Regions from separate parts of the Homo sapiens genome. Here region 1 is linked to region 2. The links are contacts of gene promoters, found by promoter capture Hi-C in human tissues and cell types (Jung and others, 2019). All regions are on one chromosome and are shown on one strand. Each heading gives the region's core, a stretch centred on a gene start or on the middle of the fragment in contact. The rest is flanking DNA. Distances are from core to core; before and after follow the strand shown.

Region 1 (5,568 bases), core at 1,369-3,868, 72 kb after region 2:
AGAAGGACTCAGTGTCTGGCGGCCCTCGCTGCTCCCCATTCTTTGAGGCCGTTGTTCCCAGATGGGATGTCGGATGCGTCTCTGGCCCGGGCCCCTGGTGAAATGTGATGGAGGGGTGTGGATGGAGCGTGGTGGACACAGCAAGAGCCTGGCCAGGCATCCCTGGGGCAGGACAGCATCAGCCGGGGAGCGGGGTCTAGCCCCAGCCGCCTGGCACAGAGTGGCGCCCAATTCTAGAGCTTGAATGAAAGAGGGAATTCAGGAAGACGCTTACACCAGCCAGGCCCCGGGGCACTCAGGACGGTAGCATCACGGGGTGCCAAAGTCTGCAAAGGTGACAGAGGACGTGGGGCCTCGGCAGGGCTGCCTCCACTTCCCCAAGCACACGGAAGACAGGCAGGGTGGACGGGGGTGACCCGGCCTGGGACCTGGGCTGTACCTTAGACCTCAGTTCCCCTCCACATGGAAGCAGCACCAAGACCCACAAGCCCTCGCTGTGGGGACCCCCGGCCTCACCCACCACCGTCCACATGGCCCCCACACCCACGGCGTTCATCTGGGCCACAAGAAGTGTTCCTCCAGGGCACGGCCCACCCAGGCCCACCCTTGGAGCTTCCCTGGTATGGACTGGCTGGGCTGGCAGAATGGGTCAGGGTGCCAGGCAGACTCTCAGGGACTTGAAGCGAGGACAGAAAATACTCCCCAGACAAGGGCAGACACAGGAGGGAACAATGCCTGAGGACACAGGCCTGAGGCAGGCCAAGCGCTGCCACGCGTGGACTGGACGAAGGCCTGCTAGGCATGGCCTGGCTGGAAGTGAAGAACCGAGGCAGCACCTCTGGCTTGGAGGGAGCAGGTGGGAGCCCTTGCACTGGCTTCCTCTCCCCTGTTCTTATTCTTCTGGAATTAGGGAGGCTGCTGGGAGGTAGAGGAAGCACCTGCCCCAGTCCTCAGAGGACAGAATCATGCGAATGCTTAGTTACCGAGACCTCCTTCCCACCTGCACGCCGGGCCAGTGGCTCTGCCCGTGACAGCCCCGGGCCTGGCCTGTGCTCAGCACTCATCACTCTTGGGTCTTCCAGGCCATGGTGGCATTGCACGCCCTGCCCTAGGTGTGGGGTTGTTTCATGTTTCAGAAGCCGAAGGACCTGCCCTCCCTCTCATCTCAACACAGCGCCTGGCAGAGAAGCAGTTCCTCTGTCTACTCCAGGGGCTCACACGCCCCTCTGTAGCCCGAAAGTCGGCCTCGGATGTGATAAGCCAGGAAACTCCCTGGTCACCAGTGCATAAGCCCTCAGGGGCTCCAGACGCAGCAGCTGGTTCAGAATTTGTTATCCTGGACTAAAGCCTCCCCTTGCACCACCGTGGGGGTGGAAGGAGGTGGCTTGTCTGAGAAACACCAACATGGACAGGGACGTTCACTGTCACAGAGACAAGGCCTGGCCCCACCTCCCCACAGGACTCCCTCCCCAGTGCCTGGTCTGACGGCAGAACCAGGCAACACCCAGTTCCGCTCCCCTCACCCTTGCCTTCAGAAGCAACAGATAACGGCAAACCCTTGCGTGCAGCGACCACATGAAGACCGCAGCTGCGCGGGCTGTAGTTTCTTACCCTCTGTCAGCACGCACGGCTCTCCAACAGATGGGCGATTTCAAGTTGCTCTGCATCTTAAATGACCCCTTGATAAAACCCCAAACGGCTTTGGATGGGTCTGTTTCCTGTATCTTAAGCACAGAAAAAACAGCCCAGATGTTTCTGATTCATTCAAGCTTTAGTTCAAGAGCACGCTCTGCCGTGGGAGTTTCTTTGAAACTGAGGAGACACACAGGCCCTTCCTCCACTCCCTCCTGCCTGGCTGAGAAAAGGGACTTGCTTGCAGCCACCTGAGAGCAAACAGCACAGGTGCATGGAAGAGGGTCCCGCAGAGCCCTGGGGAGCCCGGCTGGGGACTCTGGGAAGCGGACGGCATCCACACGTGTCCACGCATTCATCGTTGGTACGAGATCCAACTCCCTACCTCCCGGGGGTGCAGAACGCAGGGTCCAGGGAGACGGCAGCCACCTTGGGGAGGATTCGGCCTTGTGAGATAGCAAGGTCCTTCCCTCAGTGGTCGTGGCCTCCCCAGAGTCCTACACCCCTCTGCTCTGCCCCCAAAGCCTGCACCCCCTTTAGAGGCCCCCTGAGCATGGAGACGGGTCCGTGTACCTGAGATCTGCAGGCACACAAATGTATCTGCAATGCTGCCTCGGTCAGCTGTGTCACATGGTTCTGCGGCTGCTCTGAAAATGGCCATTAGGTGGGAGTTTTTCTTTCCTTTTTCCTCTCCCCTTCTCTGTTATTGATTTAGAGACTTCATGCAGAAATTGAATAGGAGGAAGGGGGTGACAGTCCTCTGAGACCTGAAATCTCAGCCACGCCACGAGTGGCCGAGGGCCCAGGTCTGGTGACCAATGGTGAGAAGGAGTCATCTCTCAGAACGAGGCCCAGACAGTGCCGGGAACCAGGGGGTCCCACCAGGCACAGGCAGAACCAGCACGGTGCCTCCCCAGAGTCCGGTGACCTGAGGAGCTGCCAGGACGGCCAGACCCCAGTGAGTCAGTGACCACCAGGACGGCCAGGCACTCTCAGCAGCAGAATTCAGGCTGCATTCATTTTCTCCAAGGAGTGCAGTGTGGGTTCGGACAGTTTGAGCTCAAGCATTAGGGCTCTGTGGAGCAGGATCACAGCTAGTTATTGGGAAATCACCAAAAATGCATCGATACACAATTCTAGGTTCCAAACAAGAAGAGAAAGGACACTTTCGCTTTTAAAAGAAGGAAGATACAAAGCCTGGCAATGAACAGAAGTTTACAGAACAGAAAAATATGGGGTTAAAAACAGCCATTGGAGTCTTCCCAATTCTCATTCAGAGAGGGTGGCATGAAAGCCAACAGAAATCGATGTTGATAGGAAACAAGTGTCATCAGAGAAGGTAAGGGCATTCGCAGAGGGAATAATATTATTTGTGAACTGTCATGGCATGGCCGTTTTTAAACTTATCTTCACAGCATCTCTCCTCATAAGCAAGAGCATGAAGAGCACGGAGAATGTCTGTTTGGTGGCCGACAGCCATCACGGGGTCTCTACGTGCCGGCCAGTCCTCACCTCGTTTGCACGCGTTTATGAACTTAGCCCTCCCTCCGCACCATGAAGGGGCCCTTATCGTCCCGTTTCACAGGTGTGGAGACAGAGGCTCGAGGGGAGAAACAGCCCTGGCGGGCGAAGGCAGAGCTGAGCTTCCGAGAAGGGCCTCCTGTGTTCAGAAATTCCAAAGGAGAAGTAGAAGTTGTCCTGTGGGCAGGAGGGGAGGGAGAAACTCCCAGATGACAGGTGCGAGCCGCGGCCTCGTGCTGACATCTAGAACCGGATGATGGGAGCGAACCGCGGCCTCGTGCTGACGTGTAGAGTGGGAGGGACCCTGGCATCCAGGGGCTTCTTTCTTGGGGAAACACCAAGTATAGAAAGTCAACCATCGTTGTCTCTCACGTAGGATTAACTGTTGCTTTTCAGCTTTTTTACACTTATTTTTTGTTAAGCTATGTCACTACACTTTTTTTTCTGAAATAACGTTAGACTTATGGAAGAGTTGCCAAGATCGTCCAGGAGTCCCCGCCCCCTTCAGGCAGCTTCCTCCCGTGTCAGCACCTTGCATACCCGACCTTGACCACAAGGATTGAGGCTAAGAATTAACACGGGGCAATTAACTACACAGTAGCTTGATTCAGATTCCTCCAGTTTCTGGTAACATCCACCTCCTGCTTTAGAAACAACACTGAGTTCCATGAGCACGCAGGTGTCATCTCGCTGTAGGCTCCAGCCCACGGCAGGCCCCGTGTTTCCTTGCCTCCCATGGCCTTGCCACTTGGAAGAGCACTGGCTGGGTGTTTTGAAGAACAGCCCTCAGTTTGAGTTTGCTATTTTATCATGTCTGGATCGAAGTTATGTGTCTGTGCCAAGAAACTGGCAGAAGCCCCATACCCTGCTCAGCGTCCGCAGTAGTGACTCACGGGCCCTATGCTTTGCCTCATTATGGGTTGTTTTGGCCCTGGTCACCTGGTTCTGGTGGGATCTGCTGGCTTCCCCCACTGTAACGTTACTATTCTTCATTTGTAATTTATTTATTTGTATTTACTTATTTTGAGATGGGGTCTCTCTCTGTCCCTCAGGCTGGAGTGCGGTCGTGCAATTTTAGCTCACGGCAACCTCTACCTCCCGGGCTCAAGCAATCCACTCGCTCAGCCTCCCAAGTAGCTGGGACTACAGGTGTGTGCCACTGCGCCCAGGTAATTTTTGTATTTTTTTAGAGACAGGATTTCACCGTGTTGCCCAAGCTTCTCTCAAACTCCTGAGCTCAGATGATCTACCTGCCTTGGCCTCTCAGGGAAGATACTTTGAGACTACAAGAGTATCCTATTTCTCCTCAAAGTCTTTTCTGCTAATTTTAGCATGGGTTGGTGGGTTTTGTCTGCAACAATTACTACTGTGGTGTTCTGAGATGATTTGTTTCCTCACTACTCTGCTGGAATTCCTCTGAAGGAAGGACCGCCCTCCCCTCACTGATTTATTCAATCACTCGTGTGCCTTCATGTGGACTTGTGCATATTTATGCTTTGGATGATCATCCCACACTGTCATTATTTACTTAGTTGCTAAAATTTACCCAGCTCTGGCCACTGGGCTTTTCCAGGCGGGCCCTTGGGACCCTCCCATCCTTCGGGAGCACTTTCTCGCTTTCCAGCATAACCCCAGGCTGCCCCGGTTTTTCCCCCAGCCCTGGAATCCATCATTTCTCCAAGGAACCCTGCTCTTTTTACTGGAGAATGAGCTTTAGAGACCAAGGTCAGGGCACTAACTGTGCTCATTGCTGCTGGGGTGTCGCTGAGCAAAGAGAAATGTGAATAGCAAATTAGCCTATAATTATTAATAATTATTTATTGATGGGTAAATAAAGGAATGAATGAAGGAGGAATTATTCAAAATACTCAAAAGATGGATGTTGAGTACGACACTTCCTCCTTGTAAGAAATAATTTAAATGTAAATGAACACGTATCTAACTTACAGCAGGGGCTATGCCTCTTGGTGTTTTCCTGTGTGTACATCGCTGTGACACATGAAAAACGGAGAGACACCCAGAGGCAATGAGAAATGCTGAACGACGCAAAGCAAAACAAAAGCAAACATTTAAAACAAACTTCTAAGTTTACAAGAAAGAAAGAACAGACTTCGAAAAAATACCCACCTGTCGATAAAATGAGATAAATTGACCATAGATGAACCTGCTCATCAACCAGTCTGGGATCCATATTTACATTATTTCTGTGATGCCAGAACTACCAGGTAAAAAGACAAACAAACAGAAACGGTCCCAGGCTGGTGACAAGCCAAGACTGCCTAAACCAGGGCCACCTGCTCTGAAGGGGGACTCCCCCACCTGCCTCCTGAGATTCCCACGGTCAGAGTTCCCCCAAAGACGATCCTACAGTCCTAGTGACGAAACACCCAGGGAAGCCAGCCCCAGGAGTGAGAG
Region 2 (6,311 bases), core at 2,641-5,140:
CACCTGTGAAAGCTCAAAAACTAGAAATGATCTAAGGTGAATGAAGTCTTCACAAGACATGAATACACAGAACTATGCCACGATTACTTCGGGCAATGAAAGTAACTTACCTTAAATTCCGTAACTGACTTGTATTCATTAGCTACAATTTTGTCTTTCATGGTGCCAAAATCCATGGGATGTTTTATTATCATTGAATATCCAGGAGCAATTGCATCCGTGACAGGAAAAGCAAAAAATCCATGGGGATCTTTTCTGAAAGCAAAGACATCTTAAAGCGGAAAAATCTAGATTTCTAAATGATACAAAATCTCTTACAATCCAAAAATTGGATACAACTGACCGAATTTTGTTTCTTAAAAATAAAAAAGTTACGAGCGTCTTTTAATTTATTGTGATAGGTATTTCAGATATAATAAAAATTCCCCCAACGCATCCTGGCGGCCATCAATGTCCCAGCTCTAGCCTTGACTTCCCTCACTCTACTCTGACTTCAGAGTGAGCCACTAATGAGTTCATGAACTCTTCCTACGCACCCCGAAGTGGACTGGGAGTCACCAAGAGAAGGTGCAGGGTCTGTTTCACAGCTGACGAGGCTGGCGTGGGGAATAAGGCCTCAGAAAAGATGACACCACACCCCCCCAGACACTAGCTCTTCAGAAACGCCCCGGTTTACCTCTGAAGCTGGCGGAGGAAGTGTTCCAGGAGTTGCTGAATAGGTGTGCTCTCATTTTCGGCTGACAATTTAAGGAAAAAAAAATTGAATACAAGACTTTGGTATCCCTTCATTAGAGAGCTCCAAGTTCACAGTATCTGTCTGTCTGGTGTCTCACAGCATTTTAAGTTCCACCGAGAACTGGGGATATAAAGATACATCCGACTCAGCCTTGGCTCCCACCAAGCTCAGCCGGGTAGAAAGGGCACCCCCACAGCAGGAGTCATAAAAATCTCTTGTAATAACCGGTAGCCCTTACATCAACAATATGTGGTGATCACTTAGCAATGTTTTCAGCTCATACCACTACTCTAGACAAGAAATGGACGACGGAACAAACGCTCTGGACATAAAGGTTGATCCTGAATTCACCGATTATTATTTCACTTGAGGTCCCTTAAAATTCAACAAAAAGTAAATAAATGGCCGGCGTGGTGGTGCGTGCCTGTAGTCCCAGCAACTTGGGAGGCTGAGGTGGGAGGATCGCTTGAGCCCAGGGTTATCTGAGCCCAGGAGTGAATCACGACACTGCACTCCAGCCTAGGCGACACAGCAAGACCATGTTTCAAAAATAAATTAAAAAAAGAAAGTGCCTGAAGAGCCAAATGACCACAGGAGCTCAGAAGGCCACCAGCTTTCCAGAACTTTCCTTCAGTGGAGCCAGCAGGCCTCAGACAGTTTCTGACGGCCTGAATGATCGCAGCACTAGCCTCCCCACTCCCTGATGTCCCATGTCCCAAAGCCCAGCCGTCTGTTTCCCTATAATCCAGGAACCACTGGATGCTGAGAGTTGCTGGGAAGAGACACCCCTTGTCTTAGGTACAAATGCCTCATCACTGTGAGTTGTGCACAGGAAGGCTGGGGACAAAGAGAACTCAGAGGGCAAGTCCTTGTCAACTGGAAATTCCAGCCAAATGCCATCCTTCGCAGATGGTGCCCACGACAGAGATTCTACTAAAGGCCTCCAGCTTCCTTTGTCTCAGCCTATGGTCACTTTCAGCAACTTCAGACCCACCATTTGGGCCTCGAGGTCCCTTCTTCCCAAGGGGAATTACCTGCGTTTTCACTGACATGCATCTCTCTTACCAGTCTGACCCAGATGGGGCTACTGTTCCAATACTGTCTTAAGTGCAAACAAAACCAAACTTCAAGACCCAGGGCTGGCAAACTTTTTACATAAAGGCCAGACAAAAAACAGTCTAGGCTTTGCGGGTCACATACGATTGGTCTCTGTGGAGATGCCTTTTTGTTTCTTTTTATGAACGCTTAAAAAACATATAAGCCATCCTTAGCTAACAAGTTAAAAAACAAAACTGAAGGGCACCAGTGGTAACTGGCCACGCCTTGCTCTAGACATTCAGAGACACCGGAGGAAACCTCAGGCCAGAGGACACCTGGGATGAGGCCCTGGAAATACCAGCTCTCCTCCCTCCCATGCTTCTCCCCAAAGCAACAGGACACGGTGCCGACCCCTCATTTACAACGATGAGCTGTGAACACCAGGAGAGTCTCTAAAAGTGCACCCTTGCCTGGCTGTGTCCGGCACGCTCGGACTGGCCGATCTGGGGGCGGCTCCACCTCCACCTTCTTCCCAGGATCAAAGTCGTCAGCCTCTCCCTCCGTGTCACAGTGCTCCCTCTCTCGCTTCCGCTTCTTCTCTTCCTGGGCGGCAGAGTCAAGGGAGTGAGAAAGGCAGGAGTAGGCGGGATCCGGACAGGTCTGCCCAATCCCCTCGCAGTTCTCAGGGGAGGGACAGAACTAAGGGAAACCCCCTCCGAGATCCTCCTCATGCCAGGCTCCCTCCTCACAGAGACCCTGGCAGGGTCTGCTGAGGAACAGCACACCCAGGATCCTGGAACTGAGTCTGCGGGCCTCAGCGGTTCGCGTTTTGCTACCAACGGAACACCCCCTCCCCTCCTCCAGCCACGCAGGCGCACTCTGCCTGGGTCCTGGGACCAGGCTCCCCACGGGCTCCTCGTGGGCAGCGTCCGGGCCACCGCCGCTGCTCCTTTACCTTTCGCTTCCTTCTTTCCTCATCGTCCAGATGCTTCTCCTTCTCGGACTTCTTCTTCTTCTTCTTTTTCTTTTCTTTGTGCCTCTCTCGCTCATGGTCTGACCTGTCATCATAGTAACTGGAGTCGTGGCCGGATCCTGAGAGTTCAGTCACTTCACTTCCTCCGACCTTCAGGACTAGCTTTAGAGGCTTCTCCAGGGGCTTGTCGGCATAATCTGCACAGACACAGACCGAGTTCTACCCGCGTGCTCAGGTGCAAACGCCACGCAGCCAGGTGAGACGTGAAGGTGCTAAGAGGGAAAGGCCTCCCTAAGGAGTACAGCGGGGCTGCCAACCAGCAGGGAAAGACGGAAGGGAAGACCACAGTGGCGGCATGTCACTGCCTCCTTGTTCTCCCTTCCCCTCCGCAGGGAGCTTCAGGTCCCTTTCGAGCCACGGTGTCCTCACCAGAGGCCCTGTGGGATGTTGTTCACATTACTCGTTCAAGAAGATGGATTAAGAGGGACCTGGAACCCCGGAGCCCGATCTCCCTCCTAGAAACCCCCAGCACTTCGGTTCACCCTCGCCTGACTTCCTGCAGGCGCCCGTGCTGCCCGCTGACACCCATGGAGCTGCTGCGGGAGCAAGGGAGAGGGAGGGAAAGGCGGGAGAAAGGGCAGCCCAGCTTCTCCCTGAGCTCCACACAAAAGCCAGCACAGATGCTTCCCTAGTCTCCAGGACCGGGGTGAGTGGGCTTGCAGCCTCGAACCCAGAACCCTCTACCAGGAACGTAAGCGCCTACCCAGGACCCCTCACGTGTGCCCGGTTCCCTGCCCGAAATCCCAGGACCCCCTCCCGCGTGCCCAGAACCCCTCCCTCGTGGCCAGGACCTCGCCCGGTGCCCAGGACCCCCGTCCGCGTGCCCGGAACTCCTCCCCCGTGCCCGGGACCCCGCCCGCCGCGCGTCACAAAGCGCCGCCGCCTCACCCTCGTAGGACGAGCGCCACTCGGCCTTGTGCTTCTTGTGCTTCTTGCCCATGGCGGCGCCGGCGGCGGGCCCGAGGCGGGGGCTGGGAACAGCTGGCACCCGGTCGGACCTTGGCCGCCACCGCCCCCTGGCCCTGGCTGGCCGCCCGCGCTCGCTGCGCCGAGGTTGCCGAGCTCGCTGGGCCGCGCCGGAAACGGGGCGAGGCGGGGCCGCGGCAGGAAGTGGCCCTGCCGGGCCCGAGCGCTTCCGGGTCAGGAGGTGGTGCGCCTCGCGCGGCAGATTCGAAGCTAGGGCGGGGCCCGCGGGCTGAGGCAGCGGCTGTGGCGGCGACGCTGGGCGTGAGGTGGCGGCGGCCGCGCCCTGGTTGGGTCCCCACTGCTCTCGGGGGCGCCATGGACGAGGCCGTGGGCGACCTGAAGCAGGCGCTTCCCTGTGTGGCCGAGTCGCCAACGGTCCACGTGGAGGTGCATCAGCGCGGCAGCAGGTGAGCCGGACCTGTCCGACACATCCTCTGGGCACCCACCCGCCCCGACCCCAGCGCGTGCACCGAGCCCCGACCCCAGCGCACTGATTCTGATGCGACCGAACCCCAGGGTACTGATCCGGCCCGACTGGACCCGGGCGCACAGGCCGCCGGGCCCCGACCGGATCCTAGCGCAATGACGCGACCCCACCGCAGGGCACTGACCCGGCCGACCCGAGCCCTGCGCGCAGGACCCCAGCTCACAGATTGAGCCCCGACCCGACCTCAGCTCACGGACCTGGCCCTGACCCTGCCCCTGCCCCGGCTGTCCTCCAGTGCATTGATGTGGCCCTGAGTCCCACGTTGGAGAATAGGATGGCTGCGCATTACAGAGAGCTCTAGTCTCAGCCGAAAGCTGGGTGGTTATTCTTTGAGCCACTGCTTCTCAGACCCTTTAATTGTTCCCGTTCCTCACGGACTCGATGTTAAATTTTTAGGGTTCAAAGCACATCCCACTCATTTGTGACCAAGTCAGTTCATGGTATGGTGGGGCCTGTGGGCTGTGCTGCTCCCTGGAGTGGGGGGAACTCAGCGGCGGGGCCAGACCTTCACAGACCCTCCTTATGTCCACGGAGGGTGGATTGAGGTCAGGTGAGACCACCAGCCTCAGAGGGGATGCAGAGGAAGAGACCTTTCCTTTAACAGAATAGCTGTTGACTGGGTATTTTCTAGGTGCTGGAGTTCAGACACGTCAGCATAATTGCACCAGGGCCCAGAGACACCTGCACAAAGCCCCATCACAGCCTGGCGACACCTGTGTAAACACCTTAGCGCTCAGAGACACCTGTACACAGTGCCACCGCAGCCTAGAGACACCCCATGTACAACCACACCTGGGCCCAGAGACGCTAGGCATAATCACACCAGAGCACAGCTGCACCTAGAGGACAGACACCTACGTACAACTGCACCAGAGTTCATAGACACCTGCACACAACCGCACTATGCATGGTGGTCGCTGCTTGTAGGGTGCTGGGACGATTGCAAAGGGGCCACATGTCACCTGCCTGGCTCTGAGGAGCCTGTCCAGGAGGGCTCAGAGGGAGGCAGACATTGAATAGGACTTAGAGGGTGACTGCAGTTGATCAGGCCAGTAAGCTGGGACAGTGCATAGCAGGGCACAGAGGTGTGATCCGGGACCAGGTCACTGTTGTAGAAAGGGGAGGTGTTAGGAGGACTGCAGCAAGGGGGACCAAGGGAAGCCCTGGATACCAAGCTGAAAGCATTAGATTTTCTCAGCACGAATCACGGCTATTGGAGACTTGTTACAATGCAGACCCCAGGCCTGACCCCACAGCTGTGGAACTTCATTAGTAATAGTGAAAGCCAACATTATTGCGTGCTTACTATGTGCCAGGTATCGTCCTAAACACTTTGAGTGTATTAATGACTTCACAGTAGCCCAGCATAGCGAGAACTCTTACTGTTGTCCCCTTTTTCTAACTGGGAGCTGAGGCACAGCTTCTTCAGGGCACAGCTGGTAGAGGACCCACAGGCAAGGGGTGGCTCTAGATTTGGTCCCAGGCAGGCCAACTCCAACTTACCCTGTTAACTACTGGGCTTTCTTATGTATTGTCTGAGTTTTTCAAAACACTTCATTTTAACATTTTGTTTTTGAACTAAGATCATTTATGTGTGTTTTGGCTTCTTTTTTTAGCACTGCAAAGAAAGAAGACATAAACCTGAGTGTTAGAAAGCTACTCAACAGACATAATATTGTGTTTGGTGATTACACATGGACTGAGTTTGATGAACCTTTTTTGACCAGAAATGTGCAGTCTGTGTCTATTATTGACACAGAATTAAAGGTTAAAGACTCACAGGTAAGTTACTAATTTGCTGGGCCAAGGAACAGTTAGCTGAATACAAAAGGTTGTATCATGAATGTCTTGCCGTTTTCATAGCCTGTTGTCAGAAACAGGTTCACTTCTCTGTTGGTTTGGGTGGCTAGACAAGTTCTTTTCACTAGCTGTCAGGAGCCAGGTGCTGGGAGTAGGAAGTAGCCCTGATGTCGGGGTGCTCTCAGTATAGCAGTAACAGATTGGAAACCAGGAATGAGAATGCAGTGCTGTACAATAGTGGGCTGCGCTGG

What was found. Contacts are between HindIII fragments. The study calls those that stand out against the background at their distance.
Region 1: a fragment that was not itself captured here is called in contact with the fragment with the promoter of BRD9 in region 2 in 2 of the 25 tissues and cell types used here (H1 embryonic stem cells and bladder).

What each region holds. Positions count from the first base shown.
Region 1 is chr5:962,488-968,055 of GRCh38, forward strand. It overlaps LOC124900931 (a long non-coding RNA gene), which reads right to left and starts at 1,674. Exons shown (of 2, transcript XR_007058676.1): 1 at 1,612-1,674; 2 at 1-239. RefSeq lists enhancers at 1,103-1,262, 2,849-3,350. The HindIII fragment of the contact is 5,091 bases long and covers 74-5,164 here.
Region 2 is chr5:888,911-895,221 of GRCh38, forward strand. BRD9 (bromodomain containing 9) reads right to left here and starts at 3,891. Exons shown (of 16, transcript NM_023924.5): 1 at 3,696-3,891; 2 at 2,730-2,944; 3 at 2,245-2,377; 4 at 677-737; 5 at 111-255. The coding sequence starts at 3,747. TRIP13 (thyroid hormone receptor interactor 13) reads left to right here and starts at 3,974. Exons shown (of 13, transcript NM_004237.4): 1 at 3,974-4,180; 2 at 5,877-6,042. The coding sequence starts at 4,089. RefSeq lists silencers at 3,232-3,450, 3,641-4,260 and an enhancer at 3,260-3,892. The HindIII fragment of the contact is 22,788 bases long and covers 1-6,311 here.